Linked DNA regions of Homo sapiens: region 1 is linked to region 2. Evidence: promoter capture Hi-C in human tissues and cell types (Jung and others, 2019). All regions are on one chromosome and are shown on one strand. Each heading gives the region's core, a stretch centred on a gene start or on the middle of the fragment in contact. The rest is flanking DNA. Distances are from core to core; before and after follow the strand shown.

The links. The method cuts DNA at HindIII sites, captures the fragments that hold promoters and counts their contacts. A contact is called where the count stands out against the background at its distance.
Region 1: a fragment that was not itself captured here is called in contact with the fragment with the promoter of ZNF726 in region 2 in 1 of the 25 tissues and cell types used here (pancreas).

What each region holds. Positions count from the first base shown.
Region 1 is chr19:23,955,257-23,958,485 of GRCh38, forward strand. ZNF276-AS1 (ZNF276 antisense RNA 1) reads right to left here and starts at 2,697. Exons shown (of 3, transcript NR_149007.1): 1 at 2,475-2,697. The HindIII fragment of the contact is 3,248 bases long and covers 74-3,229 here.
Region 2 is chr19:23,913,607-23,917,211 of GRCh38, forward strand. ZNF726 (zinc finger protein 726) reads left to right here and starts at 1,280. Exons shown (of 4, transcript NM_001244038.2): 1 at 1,280-1,391. The coding sequence starts at 1,389. The HindIII fragment of the contact is 4,279 bases long and covers 821-3,605 here.

The DNA of each region.
Region 1 (3,229 bases), core at 448-2,947, 42 kb after region 2:
AGTGGCCCCTACCAAAAAGGGGGCAGGACAGAGAGGTTTAAGCCCCACTGTTCTAGGCCATCTCATTACCACAGAGAAAATAGAATCTCTTAAGATAAAGGGCTGAACATGGGTGACCTTGCCTTCCGGGCCCAAAAGTGGAAGAATATGCCTACTTTTTAATGGCTGTTGATACCCTCCAACACCCATGACAGAACATCAGGCAGGAGAGGCCCAATCTGAAGGCCACTGTCTTTTAGCTATTATAGTTTGATGAGCCCCCATGTCAACAATTCTCATAAACATAACTCCATTAATTGTTACTTCTAAGTATGGTCTATGACATGACACTGGAGTACTCCAAAAAACCTTCATGCCTGAGTGGCCGAATCCTGAGGCCCCACAGGTCTGTTGAACATTACTTGAAGGTAAGGAGTAAGAATAATCTGAGCAAGGCAAGTCCCTTTAGAGATGGCATGGACCCCTGACACCTGTGCCATAACTTTAATTTCTGCTAAATAGTCTGAATCTATGACTCCAGAGAAAATTTGAATTCCTTGAAGTGTACTTCTGATAATCAATCCAAACGTTCCTCTGGGTAATGGGCCATAGATTCCAGTAGAAATCAGCTGGACCCCATCTTGCTCTTTAAGCACCATATCTGATATGACTGTGAGGTCCAGCCCTGCGCTGCCAGAGGTGGCTGAAGAGAGGTTATGGATGCTATTTCTGGTCCTGACTCAGAGGGGAAAGTCATTCCCCAAGTCTGGGAATTGGTGTTCCTCCATGGATTTTTCTGGGCATTGGAGGTCTTGCCCCTCTTCCCGTTTCCCAATAATGGGTTTCATCCTTATCAAATTTTGAATTTCACTGATTAGCCCAGTGCTTACCTTTGCTGAATCGCAGGCATTCTTGAGAGGGTATTTTAGGGGCCTTTGATTTCTTTGGGACTCCCTTCTGTTGGCATTCTTTGGCCATATGCCCAGTTTGGCCACAATTATAACATGTGGCCCCAGTCATCACTGCAGCAAAAGTCTGAGCCAGATAAGTTGTAAGTGCCTACATTCTGGCACGTTTTAATAAACACACCGATTTCAGTGGCAGTGGCTCAGACTAGGGTTATTGCTGCCTGACAATCCTTATTGCATTTTCAAAAGCCAATTGCAACATAAGAAGTTTAGCGACTTCAGGATGAGGTACCTGTCTTTCAATTGCAGCCTGCAATCGGTTGATAAATTCAACATATGTTTCTGTGGCACCCTGTTTAACCATCACAAAGGAACTCTGGAATTGTCCCATGAGTATCCTCTTCCATGCCTGTATCGCTAGCTGTGAGCATTGAGGAAATAGACGGCCATCCACCTGAGCCTAAGCCTGAGCTGAAGCAAAAGGCCCTGTCTCCAACAGCATACATATCAAGCTGTATCAGGATATTATCCAAATTTTGCAAGGATTGCTGCATGGCTAGATCACTGTACTCTCTCCACCACACAGTATATTCAGCAGCTGAAGCCAAAACTTTTCCCAGAGTTTTCCAGTCATGCACAGCCATCTCATAACCATTTCCCAGAGCCTCAACCATCCCCTGCGTAAAGGGTGAATGTACACCATTTTTGCAGATACTTCTTTTTAATTCCTTAAAGACAATAAAAGGCAAGCGCTCATGCCGTCTCCTATTATTTTGAACAATGACAGGGAATGCACTAAAAAGCGCCTCAGGATCTTCCTTCCTCAGTCCCTCCTGGAGGCATCCTTCTAGTAGGGAGGTTTTTTGAGGGGACACGGCCATCCAGTCATATAAATGTTCACTGCCTGGAGGTCTTATCCAAGAACAGTCCCTTGGACGGCCTCCAATCTACTCAAGGGGGATGGGAGGTGCTATTGCCTGAATGGGGCCAACAGATGCAGGTCGTGTGAAGGGTGGAGGAAAAGAGGGCAATGGCTTTTCTATTGAGAGAGGAAAAGGCTCCAGTCCGTCCTCATCATCACTAGAAAAAGTGTCTTCTTTATGCCCTACTGAAGGGAGTGAAGTTGGGGGAGGAACTCCTTCCTGTTGTTCTGCTTTCTGTGTCCCCTTTTCCTTTAAATTTTCCGAATTCCCTTCAGGTGAAGAAAATGGGCAATCTGACTCACCACGATCTGGCATATAAAGAGGGTACAACACAGAACATGCCAGACTCCAGGTGATCAAAACGGTAACATTAGTAAAATGGACCTGCTCAAATCCTCTTTTCAGGCAGCAATCTGCCTGCTCCCATAACTCTAAGTCTAATGTTCCTTGGTCAGGGAACCAAGGGCATTCCTGCCGAATTAAAAACATAAGCTTATGCAAAGCTTCAGACTCTATGGTGCACTGAATAACCTTAAGTAAATGTTGCACCGTTTTAAAAAATACTTTCTGCTCTTTGGACAACTCCTGATCCATGGTAACCCGACCCCTGGTATTATAGACGTCGGTGCTGTCCTCCTGAAAATGGGTAGGGACTGTCCCTTACCGGTATTCCCCGAAGATTGGTGAGTCATCCTACTCCATGCATAACTTCAAGGCAATCACGTCGGAGTCACCACTTGATCATGTCCGAGTCACCACTTGATCACGTCCGAGTCACCACTTGCAGCTTGTTCTGCAGTGAATGCCGAGAAATAAATATTCAGACAATTACAGCTGAACGGGGAAGGGAGCAGCTCCTCCAATGGAGTGTTGCTTTAAGATTCATCCGCCAAGTATTTATTGAGAAGGCTTGTTGAACTACAATTTAGACAAACAAGAAACATCCACCAGGTGGCTATTTGGATTCGGGTCATGAGGCACATATGGCCTTGTTTATAACATCTAAAAGCACTCAAACCACATTCTTAGGAGGCTGTGTTCAGCACTCTTTATCACACATTCTGTTCCTTGTCCTGTTTTCAGGGTCAAGGAATTACAGTCTCATGCACAAACAACATACACACAGTGCCTCAGTATTTTTCCATGCCTCAACCTCAAATGCCTTGTACATAAGCTTGAATGTATTGTCTTACAACCCCCACGCTATGCCAGTAGGAAAAGGGGTTGCCTGGGGACTATGCCTGTTCAAAATGGTGGCTCCATCTTCCCTTTTCTTTGTAAACCACATGTACAGTAACAACCAAGAAAGGGTGAAATTAAAGTAAAACTTTTGATTGTTGACTTGTCAAACTGGATTTGTATGGATTAATAGGTCTAGCACAGGTAGAAGAGAGACAAATACTTCTGGTTTATCTGATT
Region 2 (3,605 bases), core at 30-2,529:
AAAGTTTTATGCACTCACATCTCTGCCATTTATGTGCTATCAGTGAACCATATATCAGTTTGGTTCTAACAACTGCCCACTTCTTGAAAGGCTTTCCTGTTTAGTTTACGTGGAATAATTTTACTAATTTTGCTTTGCTGTTGTGGAATATATTGTGGTTGTACTCTTTGTGTAGGAATGCAAGACAAGCTCACTAAATGCTTTCTTAAATTGGACGCTTATTAATCTTCTAGACATCACCTTCTTTTGGAACTAGAAGTTATGAACGACCTTCACCATACCAACACTGTCTGACTGAATTTCTCTCTACCCTGAATGCAAGAGACCAATGGTTAGGCAGGAATATTATCGCCCCTAATCAGCCTGAAAAAGTTACAGAAGACGAATCTTTGTCTCTCTGCAACTCTTAGGATTAAGGGTCCTCTTGTAAAGGAAGGCGAAAAATATGTCAGAATCATTTGAACCAGAGCGACTCCGTTTTGAGAGAGAGCTAGGAAAATGACGCTGAGACTCGCTGGGCTGCATTCTCAGTAAGTTAGGCATTCCTAGCCTCTAGATATTTATGGTTAAGGAAATGAATTAATAATGTTTACTAAGCAGAACCAGACGGAGGAGTGTCCAGATATTCCAACATCTGGGGAATAAAGGTATTCCTAATTTTGCTTTAAAGATAATATCGAGTCGGCCAGGCATGGTGGCTCACGACTGTAATCCTAGCATTTTGGGAGGTCGAGGCGGGTGGATCTCCTGAGGTCAGAAGTTCGAAACCAGCCTGGCTAACGTGGCGAAACCCCATCTCTACTAAAAAAAACCAAAAAACAAAAATTAGCCCGGTGTGGCTGTGTGCACCTGTAGTCCCAGCTACTATGGAGGCTGAGGCAGGAGAATCGCTTGATCCCGGAAGGCGAAGGTTGCAGTGAGCCGAGATCGCGCCATTGCACTCCAGCCTGGACAACAAGAGCGAAACTTTGTCTAAAAAAAAAATTATTCACATATTTAATACGTTGAAAAAAAGACAGCAAAGAAGAGAGAAAATTTTTCCGTGTTCTGAGATGGGCCTCGTTCAGCTCCGGGAGGAAGCCCCGCCTGAAAAGGCTGAGGCTTAGGCTGTCAATCTTTCTTCATTCAGCCCAACGTCTGATGACATCTTCTGTCACTCAGGGCCTTAGAAAGCGGGGTTCTTAAACGTTATCCAATCAGAGACGCTGTCCTGGGAACTGTCCAATCAGGCACGCAGCTGGAGCGAACAGGGCGGCTTCCGGGATTTGGCGGGGCCTTTGTCTCTATCTGCGGCCGGAGCTCCAGGTCTCGTCCTCACTACTCTGTGTCTTCTGCTTTTAGGGGCGCAGCCTCTGTGGCCCTGTGACCTGCCCCCTGGAAGCCTAGAAATGGTGAGAGTGCCGGGTGCGACATCCCAAGAGAGGGAACGGGGCTGGCTGGAACCGGTGGGAAGCGGCAGTGGCGGGACTCAGGCCTCCTCGCTGTCAGTTTTACAATCTGCGCCCGAGTTGTTGCCCAGCTCGGCCTCAGTCCCTTCAGCCTTAAGATGGCGGCTGCGCTGACAGCCGGGCTCCCGGGCGTTCTGTCTCTTCACTGCGCAGTGACTGTGCCCTGGCCTGGAGCCCTCTTTGGGCAGCTCTGCACCAGTAGCCCCGCGTCTCTCCCAGATTGTGCAGGGACCATGGGAGGAACGTCAGGGCAGAATCCTGACTCCGGGTGCGGGCTCATGAATGGGAAGAGCTTTGGTCCGTGGGGTTTTCAGGCCATTTTTTCCTATTAAAAATTTATGGGCCTCACTGCAAAAACATTAAATAATTTAAAGTGTGATTCAAAAATTTTAGAGCACCTTGCTGTGGTTTCTAATTTGTATTCCATGGAAGGAAAGGTTTTTATAAGTTTCATCATAAAACCAAATTCCGTAATTGGCTAGGTACGGTTATGTAGATTTTGTTGTTATTTTGTTGTTGTTGTTTTGTTTTCATTTTCTTTTTTTTTTGAGGCAGAGTCTCTGTTGCCCAGGCTGAAGTGCAGTTTCGTGATCTCGGCTCACTGCAACCTCCACCTCCCGGGTTCAAGCGATTTTTCTGCCTCAGCCTCCCTAGTAGTTGGGACTACAGGCGCCTGCCACCACATTTGGCAATTTTTTTTATTTTTAGCGGAGACGGGGGTTTCACCGTGTTGGTCAGGCAGGTCTCGATCTCCTGACCTCAGGTGATCCACCCACCTCGGCCTTCCAAAGTTCTGGGATTACAGGCGTGAGCCACTGCCCCCGTCCTAGTTCTTAATTTTTACAATCAAGGTGGAAATATCATGGTTATGTAATCAGAGCTTAATTGGCAGTTTATAGTTGGTTAAGCGTTAAGCCTGAATTTTGTTTCTGCCAATGTAGTAATTTACAAAAAAATGCTCTTGAGTTTAGACTTTTTTTTTAGAAGTAGAAATCCAGGGACTAGAGCCACCTCAATCTAATTTCCTGCCACTTAATGGTTTTCACACTCCACAGGGGACTGATTTTTTCCCTGAATTTTTCACAAGTGTCCCAAGCAGGGCCTCAAGTCTGCCCCTCATCCCTTATTCCTCCAGCCTGACTGGCTTGCAGTAAAATACTAAATTTCCAGTTTTGTCTGACGTTGCCAAATGCCAGTTTCTCCTCTCTAATTGACTTTATCAACTATTTGTCCTTTAGTGTACATATTGATACCTATTTTAATGAATCTTTTTTTTTTTTTAAAAGTATTTGAGACAGAGCCTTGCTCTGTTGCAGTGCAGTGGCTGGAGTGCAGTGGCATGACTTAGGCTCACTGCAGCCTCCGCCTCCTGGGCTCAAACGGTTCTCATTTCTGTCTCCCAAGTAGCTGGAATTACAGATGCCTGGCACCACGCCTGGCTAATTTTTGTAGTTTTAGTAGAGACGGGGTTTCACTATGTTGGCCAGGCTGGTCTTGAACTTCTGGTTTCAAGTCATCCTCCTGCCTCGGCCTCCCAAAGAGCTGGGATTACACATGTGAGCTACCGTGCCTGGTGAATTAATTATTTTTTGACAAAGCATTTGATGGCACATTTACAATGATTTTTTTTCTAAATATTTCCTACGAGAATAAAGCAAAGAATAATCTGACACTATTGTAAAATATCTGTGTTTTTTTCTTTTATTTTACCTAGTCACAGATATCTTAGAATGTTTTTGGGTCAAGATTTTTTTTTTTTTGGAAACTTCATAGGGTGACGTATCTTCAGTCACACTTCAGTTTTAGACAATCAACTAATTGAATGGCCTGACTTGACACATGAGTAAAACATATCTGTACCTTGAAAGGATTTGTTCATTTGCTTTGACCTAAAGTTTATTTATGTATCTTTTTAAGACAGAGTTTCCCTCTGTCACCCAGGCTGGAGTAAAGTGGTGCCATCTCTGCTCACTGCAACCTCCAAATCCTGACTTCAGGTGATTGTCATGCTTCAGTCTCCCAAGTAGGTGGGATTACAGGTGTGCACCACCACACCCACCTAGTTTTTGTATTCTTAGTAGAAATGGAGTTTCACCATGCTAGCCAGGCTGGTGTCAAACTTCTGGCCTCAAGTGACTCACCTTCTTTGGCCTCCCA